Linked DNA regions of Homo sapiens: region 1 is linked to region 2. The links are contacts of gene promoters, found by promoter capture Hi-C in human tissues and cell types (Jung and others, 2019). All regions are on one chromosome and are shown on one strand. Each heading gives the region's core, a stretch centred on a gene start or on the middle of the fragment in contact. The rest is flanking DNA. Distances are from core to core; before and after follow the strand shown.

The links. The method cuts DNA at HindIII sites, captures the fragments that hold promoters and counts their contacts. A contact is called where the count stands out against the background at its distance.
Region 1: a contact is called between a fragment that was not itself captured here and the fragment with the promoter of CDC45 in region 2, in 1 of the 25 tissues and cell types used here (dorsolateral prefrontal cortex).

The regions. Positions count from the first base shown.
Region 1 is chr22:19,923,801-19,928,892 of GRCh38, reverse strand. The region is part of intron 2 of TXNRD2 (thioredoxin reductase 2); the gene reads left to right. Among named protein-coding and RNA genes, the nearest start is that of COMT, 15 kb to the left of the region's middle. The HindIII fragment of the contact is 5,179 bases long and covers 1,006-5,092 here.
Region 2 is chr22:19,475,940-19,481,240 of GRCh38, reverse strand. It overlaps CDC45 (cell division cycle 45), which reads right to left and starts at 1,321. Exons shown (of 19, transcript NM_003504.5): 1 at 1,222-1,321; 2 at 1,024-1,083; 3 at 196-288. The coding sequence starts at 1,272. It overlaps UFD1 (ubiquitin recognition factor in ER associated degradation 1), which reads left to right and starts at 2,048. Exons shown (of 12, transcript NM_005659.7): 1 at 2,048-2,158. The coding sequence starts at 2,156. RefSeq lists silencers at 1,372-1,421, 2,212-2,281 and an enhancer at 1,512-1,811. The HindIII fragment of the contact is 17,956 bases long and covers 1-5,301 here.

The DNA.
Region 1 (5,092 bases), core at 2,346-4,845, 450 kb before region 2:
CTAGGATTACAGGCGCCTGCCACCACACCTGGCTAATTTTTGTATTTTAGTAGAGACGGGGTTTCACCATGTTTGTCAAGCTGGTCTCGAACTTCTGGCCTCAAGGGATCCGCCTGCCTCGGCCTCCCAAAGTTCTGGGATTACAGGCATGAGTCACCGTGTCCAGCCAACTTAATTACCTTTTTGAAGACCCTATCTCTAAATACAGTCACATTCTGAAGTGCTAGGGTTTAGGGCTTCCACATAGGGATTTTGAGGGGATATGGCTCAGCCCATAACACCCCAACATTTTCTGAAACCTTGGCAGTTCCTTCCGGCTTCCCCCACTTCTGCATCCTAGGCAACCAGGCATGTGCTGTCTGTCACTATAGTTTGCATTTTCTATAATTGCGTATAAACGGAATGCTGCTGTATGTCATCTTCCTCTTCTGGCTTCTTTCACTCAGGGTAATGACCTTGAGACTCATCTTCGTTGGCGCGAGTGTCGATGGTTTCTTGCTTTTCATTGCTGAGTAGTGTTCTGTTTATGGCTGTGCCGTTTCGTGTACGTGTTCCCCTGTAGCTGGACACTTGAATTGTTTCCACCTTTTGGCCATTGTGGACAGTATTGCTGTGAACGTCTGTCTGTGTGTTTGTGTGGATATATGTTTTAAATTATTTTGGGTAAGTGCCTAAAAATGGACCAACTGGATCGTGTGGTATATCTCTTATTTAGGTATTTTTTCATTTCTTTTAGCAGCATTTTGTAGTTTCTTTTTTACTCAAGTTTTTTTTTTTTATTAAAAAAAAGAAAGATGAGGGTCTCTCTGTGTTGCCCAGGCTGGTCTCAAAATCCTGGGCTCAAATGATCCTCCCACCTTGGCCTCCCAAAACGTTGGGATTACAGGAATGAGCCACGGTGCCTGGCCTGTGGTTTTCAATGTCTACGTCTTTCACATATTTTATCAGATACATCCCTAAGTGTTTCATATTTTTAGAATAGTTTTATTGAGATATACCTCACATTACGTATGCATTTGTCCCTTGGTACCCGAGGACGACTGGGTTCAGGAACTCCCGCTGTTAGCAGAATCCATGGACACTGAAATTTGTGCATACTGGAGTCAGGCAGTTGGCCCTGAAGCACCCACAGATACAGAGTCAGCCCTCTGTATATATAGTTTTGCATCCTATGAATACTGTTTTTTTCTTTTTCTTTCTTTTCTTTCTTTCTTTCTTTTCTTTTTTTTTTTTTTTTTTTTGAGACAAGGTCTCATGTGTTGCCCAGGCTGCAGTAAATGGTGCAATCTCGGCTCACTGCAACCTCCACCTCCCGGGTTCAAGCGATTTTCCCACCTCAGCCTCCCGAGTGGCTGGGACCACAGGCGCCACCATGCCCAGCTACTTTTTGTATTTTTTTGGTGGAGAAGGTGGGTTTCGCTATGTTGCCCAGGCTGGTGTTGAATTCCTGAGCTCAAGTGATCCGTCTGCCTCAGCCTCCCAAAGTGCTGGATTACAGGCATGAGCCACCATGTCCAGTGGAGTACTGTATTTCCAATCCGAGTTTGGTTACAGATTTGGAACTTGCTGATATGGAGAGATAATATATATATTTTTTTGAGACCGAGTTTCGCTCTTGTCACCCAGGCTGGAGTGCAATGGCACAATCTCAGCTCACTGCACTCTCCACCTCCTGGATTCAAGCAGTTCTCTTGCCTCAGCCTCCCGAGTAGCTGGGATTACAGGTGCCTGCCACCACGCCCAGCTAATTTTTGTATTTTTAGTAGAGACGGGGTTTCACCATGTTGGCCAGGCTGGTCTCGAACTCCTGACCTCAGGTGATCCGCCCACCTTGGCCTTCCAAAGTGTTGGGATTACAGGTGGGAGCCACTGTGCCCGGTCAAGGGATTATATTTATTGAAAAAAAATCCATGTATGAGTGGACCTGTGCAGTTCAAACCTGTGTTATTCAAGAACATTTTAGTTTCTCCCCAAAATACCCTGTACCCATTGGCAGTCAGTCTCTTCCCCCCTCTCCCCAGCCCCTGGCAACCACTAATCTACTTCCTATATCCGTGGATGTGTCTGTTCTGGACATTTCAGCTGTTTTTTGGTTGGTTGGTTGTTTGTTTTCAGACAGGGTCTGACTCTGTTGCCCAGGCTGGGGTGCAGTGGCACCATCTCGGCTCACTGCAACCTCGGCCTCTCGGGCTCAAGCAATTCTCCCACCTCAGCCTCCCGAGTAGCTGGGATTACAGGTGTGCACCACCACATCCAGCTAATTTTTTGTATTTTTAGTAGAGACGGGGTTTCACCATACTGGCCAGGCTGGTCTTGAACTCTTGACCTCTCAAGTGTTCCACCCACCTTGGCCTCCCAAAGGGTTGGGATTAACAGGTGTGAGCCGCCGTTGTTTTGTTTTTTGAGATGGAGTCTCGCTCTGTCACCCTGACTGGAGTGCAGTGGTGTGATCTTGGCTCACTGCAACCTGTGCCTCCTGGGCTCAAATGATTCTCCTGCCTCAGCCTCCCAAGTAGCTGGGACCACAGGCACACACCACTATACCCGACTAATTTTTGTACTTTTAGTAGAGATGGGGTTTCACCATGTTGGCCAGGCTGGTCTTGAACTCTTGACCTCAGGTGATCCGCCCACCTCGGCCTCCCAGAGTGCCGGTATTACAGGCATGAGCCACCGTGCCTGGCCTCTTCGCATTTTCTTTTTCTTTTTCTTTCTTTTTTTTTTTTTTTGAGACGGAGTTTCGCTCTTGTTGCCCAGGCTGGAGTACCATGGCACAATCTCGGCTCACCGCAACCTCCGCCTCCCAGGTTCAAGCAATTCTCCTGCCTCAGCCTCCTGAGTAGCTGGGATTACAGGCATGCACCACCACGCCTGGCTAATTTTGTATTTTTAGTAGAGAAAGGGTTTCTCCATGTTGAGGCTGGTCTTGAACTCCTGACCTCAGGTGATCCACCCGCCTCGGCCTCCCAAAGTGCTGGGATTACAGGCGTGAGCCACCATGCCCGGCCCTGCACTTTCTTGATGGTATCCTTTGTGCCACAAAAGTTTTAAATTTTGGTGAAGTCCTAATTTATCTATTTTTTTCCTTTGTTGCTTATGATTTTGGTATCATAGCTAAGAAATCCAAGATCACAAAGATTTACACCTGTGTTTTCTTCTAAGCATTTTATAGTTCAAGCTCTTACAGTTAGGTCTTTGATTTATTTTGAGTTGCTTTAGGGTTTATGGCATGTACCTTAACTTGCCAGTCTACCCTTAAAAAAGCATACATCTATTCCACCCCTCCTAACCTTCATTCTATGTTATTATATCATGTGTTTACTGTTACATGTTATAAATCCATGATACATCATTATTATTTTTGTTTAAAATATACTTAAATCGTGTGAGAAAATCTCACATACTCACCCATTGTATTTCTGTGCTCTTCATTCCTTTGTGAGGATCCACATTTCCATCTGGTATTTTTCTTCTACCTTAAGGGCATCCTTTAGCATTTCTTGTAATATGGCTCTGGGGGTAATGAATTCTCTCAGCTTTTGTATGTCTGAAAACGTCTTTATTTTGCCTTCTTTTTTGTTGTTGTTGTTTTGTTTTGTTTTGTTTTTTGAGATGGAGTCTTGCTCTGTCGCCCAGGCTGGAGTGCAGTGGTGCGATCTCAGCTCACTGCAAGCTCTGCCTCCCGGGTTTGCGCCATTCTCCTGCCTCAGCCTCCTGAGTAGCTGGGACTACAGGCGCATGCCACCATGCCCGTCTAATTTTTTGTGATTTTAGTAGAAACGGGGCTTCGCCGTGTTAGCCAGGATGGTCTCGATCTCCTGACCTTGTGATCCGCCCCCCTTGGCCTCCCAAAGTGCTGGGATTACAGGCGTGAGCCACCATGCCTGGCCCCCCGCTTTTTTTTTTTTTTTCAGTACTTTAAAAATTTTGCCCCTCTGACTTCTGGCTTGCATTGTTTCCAGTGAGAAATCTGCTACTATTTTTATCTTAGTGTCTCTGTAGTGTGTCTTGGTTGCTTTTAGGATTTTCTCTTTTCATTGGCCTTGAGTCCCTCCTTCTTCCCCTCACATGTGGGGACTTTTAATTCCATGTATATTAGGCTGCATGAAGCTTCCCCACAACCTACTGATGCTCTTTTCATTAGAAACATTTCTTACTCTGCGTTTCATTTTGGATAGTTTCTATTCCTATGTTTTCAAACCCACCAATAAAAGATTCTGCAACATCTGACCTGCCATTAATCCCGTCCAGTGTATTTTTCATCTCCTGTATTGTAGTTTTCATCTCTACAATCCAGCTTGAGCCTTTGGTTATATCTTCCATGTTGCTCCTGCACTGTTTGAACATGCAGAATGGCTAGTGGGGCAGTGAGCTGAGGAGAAGGGACAGAGGGGAAGCTCAGCTGTTGGGTCTACGGGTATGATGGAGACCATGCAGCTGAAAGTAAACCGTCACCCCTTCTGCTTCAGTGTGAAAGGCCAGGTGAAGATGCTGCAGCTGATGAGGCTGGGCCTTAGGGTGCGGGGGGTGGTGGAATCTGCTTGTGGGCGGGAGATGTGGCTATGTGGCTATAAAGGATGAAGATGAACGCCCTGTTTGCTTTTCAGCCTCGCTTGGATCAAGGTTAAAAGGCCGGTTGTGGCCTTCTTGGTGGAAGAAAGAGAGAGATAAGGCACTGTCCTCCCCTTCGGAGGGTCTGGGGATACACTAATCCATCAAAACCACTGAGGGCTGGGCGTTGGTGTGTGCCTGTGGTCCCAGCACTTTGGGAGGCTGAGCTGGGAGGATTGCTTGAGCCCAGGAGGTCAAGGCGTAAGCAAGCTGTGATCGCACCGCTGCACACCAGTGCCTGGGCAACAAAGTGAGACTCTGTCTCTTTAAAAGAAAAAAGAAAAAAAAGCCTTTTTTTAAATTAAAAAAAAAATCAAGTCTACCTGAATGGCCTGCAGTTGGACCCACAAACCAGGTACCCAAGTTACCAGGCAAGGCAGCTGCAGTTGTACCAGTCAGAAGTCCACAAGATTTGAAAAAAAAAAAAAAAAAAAAAAGCCTCAGGGGTTTCAGTGAATGCTGTGTTAACTTTTTTTTTTGA
Region 2 (5,301 bases), core at 72-2,571:
TTTTTTGCTGTCAATTTTGCTTCTACAACTTGGGCGTGGTAAGTCACCAGTAAATACAGCATGTTTTTCTCTTCCATATTGCCTAATGTAGCTGATACTTAAATACACGCTTAATCTATCGTGGAAATAGAATGCTGTGTCAAGAAATTACAATTGAGTAAAAAGCCACGTTATTCTAAAACGCATCTTCAATACCTGTTCTTTATGCTCAAGAAATGCAGTTTCAAGTTCTTGCCACCCAGAAACTGGAACCAGCGTATATTGCACGTGGTCACACTGGAACAAGGCCTGGAGAGAGAGTGTTTTCAAAGCCTATCTTATTTAGGACATTAGCAATTTACCTTGAAAAGAAACTGAGGAAGATTAGACGGGTTGAGAGACAAAAGACACGGGATAACATTAAAGCTAGTGAAATGCTTACGGGAAAAGCTAGGTGCTAGGGATATGAGCGTTTACCATACCATTCTGTGAATTTTGCAAATTACCAAAGTAAAACATCGGGGAGAAATGCCGATTTAACTTCCAGGCCTTCTGAAAAGTTCCTGATCCAAGGGCCTGACCAAAACAACGTAAATACTATGCCCTATTCAAAACCAAACTAACGATCTTCCCTAATAGACTAGGGGCTCCCATATTCCCAGCAACACCTGTGACACGACTATACCCACAGTTGTCACAGATTCCTCTCTCTCAAATCCCCCATTTGAGAGGCCACGACAGATCCAAAGTTTCCCCCAAATGCAACTGCTGTGTTCACCTATTAATATTAATAGCTTATTGCAAAAATACAAACTAGTCTCTTTACCTTTTACTTAATCCTTTATCCCACCCCACACCGTTGGGACAGGGAGGCAACCTCTCCTCCGAGTCTCTCTCCTCTCACTTGCTGTTCACCTCCTGCCCTGCTCCCTCTCCCACCCTAAGCCCTCAGCACCCATCCTGACACTCTGCCCGCCCTGCGCCCCCACGCAGCACCCTCACCTCGCGCGCCGGCCCCGCCCTCCTAGGGTCCGCAGAACTCACCTGAAGGATCTTGCACGCACACAGAGCATCCACGTCCGAGGCCACGAAGAGAAGGACCCTCTATCGGGGAAGAGCAGACCGGCTGAACACGGCGACCCGAACCCCGGCCCTCCCCTGCCTCCCGGTCACCCACGGTCGCTCCCCCTCATCCCTTCCCCACCGGCAAGGCCTCGGCGGGGGTCCCGGACTGGGCGTCACCTGGCTCTGGACCACCTCGTAGAACTCTTTGCGGAAATCGGACACGAACATAGCCACGGCGGCCGGACGCCTGGCGCTCGCGCTGAGGTACCAAGAGCCCGGCGGCGGTCAAGACTCCCGCCAAATCACGGCTCCTCCGATTGGTCCAGGGATCACCAACCAATAGCTTCTTAGTTCCCAGCCTTCCTTTCTTTCTGATTGGGCCACATTGGAGGCGGCCATTAGCGCTCTGCCATTCACGGCCAGAAAACTCCAGCCCGCCCCCAAAGAAGCGTCACCTCTGAGGCCGAACGCAAACACTGTTGCCCCCTTCAACTCTGACTCGCTTTTACCCAGAAAAGCGACGCTGGGCGGACATCTTTACTTTGGGAAGAGAAGCCTACTGCCTCCCACTGGGAACCCTCAGGGAAAGTATACTTCTAACCATACATTAAACTCAGTCACATACCCAATGGGGCAGCATTTACGTTTGCAATAGGTTTTTGGTGTGGTTTGAAGAAGGATTTGTAGCTTAGTTCCGCCCGAGTCCTCGATGGCTGAAGCAGAGGCAGTCTGGGTAGTGCATTGTGGGTAGTGTAGTCGTAAGGACAATGGGCCCTACTAAATTCGTCTGGAGGGGAATACTGTCAACACGTAATTTAAAATAACGTTTAAAAATACCTATAAAAGGGGAAATAAATCACGAAAGGGCATTTTAATGCTTCTACTGAGGGTGTTTTAGAGCCTAGCGTCTTCGCCTGGCCTTTTCTCTTTTGCAGCCGACGCTTTGTCCCGGGCACCCCCCCTCCGGGTCTCGGGTCCGGCACTTCCGGTGAGCCTCTGGGGCGTACCGGCTTGGCGCGGCGGCAGCGGCAGCGGCGGCTGGGAGAGCGGTCGGCGGGGTTTCTTCGTTGCATTGCCTGAGAGGAGCGGAGTCTGCCAGGTGGTGTCCATCATGGTAAGCGCTGACGGGCAGCGGGCGGGGGCTGGGCCTTGGCCCGGGGCCTGAGGTAGGGCCCGGCGGGGCAGGGCGGGGCGGGACGGCGGCGGAGGTGCCGAGTCACCCGGGCCTGAGTCCGGCCTGCAGGCTCATCGGCCGCACCGGGCACAAGCAGGACCCTTGACCACTAACCGCCTGTGGTCGCGTCCGCCGGTCCTGAACGTGGCTCGCATTCTGTCTCAGCCGGACTTGCCCTCCTTGACGAAAGAAAGGAAGGTTTGTGTCCATTCACGGGTTTCCCAAGTGCTGGACGCGCAACAGGTTTCCATAAACCCAAAGTTAGTTGCAAGGTTGCTGGGGATGGGAACAGAATCAGGGCGCTCCCCAGGGAGAATCCGTAGTGGGCATCCCCCGCTCTTGGGGGACACCCAGCTCTTGCCCCAGCTCCGTGAGCTCCGTGCCTACGGGTTCGTGCCTTCGAATCTGTACAGCGGTGTTGTGTTCGGTAATGATAACGATGGAAGCTAATACCTGCTGGTACATTTCCTGTTACACAGCTTTTAACACCTGTACTCCCTCATCGCGGCTTATTTCTTTTAATCCCTACAATCCCTTTGGAAGCAAGGATGATGATGATTTTAAACATGAGAAAACTAACGTTTACAGAGGTACTTTATTCGAGTCACAGAAGTAGGGACTGGAGAGTTGAAGCCAAGTCTGTCTGGCTGCAAAGCACTCTACGGTATTGTCTTCCTGTCACCTGTTTATTTTAGTAAAGACAAGGAATGATTGTTAGATTTTATCCCAAGTGTGTCACTGTCAAACCCTGGCTTATTTCTATTCTTGAGTTCATCCACTCAAGAATACCTGATATGTTCCAGGCAGTGTGCTAGGTCTCGGGATTGAAAAGGAAAGTGAGAGATGGGATCGGGAGCAGCAAAGAAGGGGCAGAAGGTCGGGTTCATGGGTAAACTGCAGGCAGGTTGTTAAGTATGTTGCCCCTTTGTGCGGATTTACCTTTTATATTCAAAGAGAAGAAATGGCTTACATAGGTTGGCTAGTGAGAAGCACTCAAGGGAAGCAAGCCCCTACCCTGTTCTGGCCTTGTTCACCCAGAAACGCTATTTCCTGTGTTATGGTTCTGGCCAAGATTTAGCTGAACAGTTATGCTGCTTAAAAGAAGAAAGACAAAAGATTGGAAATTACTGTGTTAGAGTGCCAGGGAGTAAAGAACCATCCCAGATTTTAGGCGGGAACATGCTATGTTTGCATTTTGGGAGATGGCTAATTCAGCTTGCTAATTTTGGAGTTGCTAGTAAACTGCTTTGTCAGTAGGTGGCATTCCTTCTACTAAATATATATTTGGAATCAAGTCAAGAAATTTTCTCTAATACAGATTTTTTTTTAGTTGTGGTTAAAAAAACCAAATTTTTATCATCTTAACCGTTTTTCAGTCTATAGTTCAATAGTGTTGAGTACATTCACGAGCAACAGATTTTCAGAACTTTTTCATCTTGCAAAAGTGAAACTCTACTCACATTAAACAATAGCTCTCCATTTTCTGCTCCTCACAGCCCCTGTCAATCTCTGTTCCACTTTGTCTCCATGAATTTGCCTACTCTAGGTACTTCCTAGAAGCGGACTCATAAAATATAAGTCCTTTTATGACTGACTTACTTCACTTGGCATGATATCCTCAAGGTTCATCCATGTGACAGGATTTCTTTCCTTTTAAAAGCTGAATAATATTTCATTGTATGTATATACCATACCACAATTTGTTTATTCATTCATCTGTCATTGGACACTTGAGTTGCTTCCACCTTTTAGCTATTATGAATAATTGTGCTATGAATACGGGGTGTACAAAAATCTCTTCTTGATTCTGCCTCCAGTTCTTTTGAATATATATCCTCCTGTGAGATTTTAGGTGGTTTCAGTTACCCGAGGTCAACCATGGTCCAAAAATATTAAAATAGAAACCACATTCACATAACTTTTATTACAGTATATTGTTGTAATTGTTTTATTATTAATTGTTAATCTCTTACTGTGCCTAATTTATAAATTAAACTTTTTTTTTTTTTTTTTTTTGAGATGGAGTCTTGCTCTGTTGCCCAGGCTGGAGTGCAGTGGCACGATCTCGGCTCACTGCAACTTCCACCTCCTGGGTTCAAGCGATTCTTCTGCCTCAGCCTCCTGAGTAGCTGGGATTACAGGCGTGTACCACCACGCCCGGCTAATTTTTGTATTTTTAGTAGAGAGAGGGTTTCACTATGTTGGCCAGGCTGGTCTCAAACTCCTGACCTCAGGTAATCCACCTGCCTCTGCCTCCCAAAGTGCTGGGATTATAGGCGTGAGCCACCGCACCCAGCCTATAAATTAAACTTTATTGTAGATATGTATAAGAAAATTGTAGATATGTATAAGAAAAAACATAGTATGTATAGATTTCAGTATTATCTGTGGTTTCAGGCGTCCACTGGGGATGTTGGAATGTATCCCCTGTGGATATGGGGGTGGGGGGTGGGAGGAATACTGTACTTTGAGAAAACCTTCAAATTGATACATGTTTGCTAAGCCTCATCTTAGTCTACAGTTTAAGATCTAGGATCTTATCTTTTTAATGGCATCATGTTTTAGCTTTGCTTGTTGCTGTAAGAAAGCATCATAACATAGTGTAACGTGTACCTACTTTGTGCTGTGAGAGCACGCTGGAGAGGCACTAGACCTGACCCTCAGCAGAGCAAGAGAGGCTTCCTGGGGAAAGGAAAGGATGGTAATTGGAACCCAGGGGAAGGGGTGCAACCACTGGGTACCTGTTCTTCCTGCTGCCTGGAATGTCTTTCCCTCTTTTTTGCCTGGCTCCCTCTCATAGCATTCAGGTCTTTGTGCAGAGTCCCTTCCTAACCACCTATTTAAAATAGCATTCCCAGGAGCCCTGTGTCTACTTACCCTGCTGCTTGTCTTCAGAACTGCCAGACACACATGTGTGTGTGTCCGTTGCTTGGAGTGTATATCTCTCTTGCTTTGAGTGTCATTTTCACCAGGACAGGGGTGGTATCTATTTTGTTAGTGGACAGACATCACTGGAGTGGTGCTTCCCTTGTGCTCATATCAGAGCCTGGCAGACAGTAGGCACTCAATAAAGAGATGTTTCA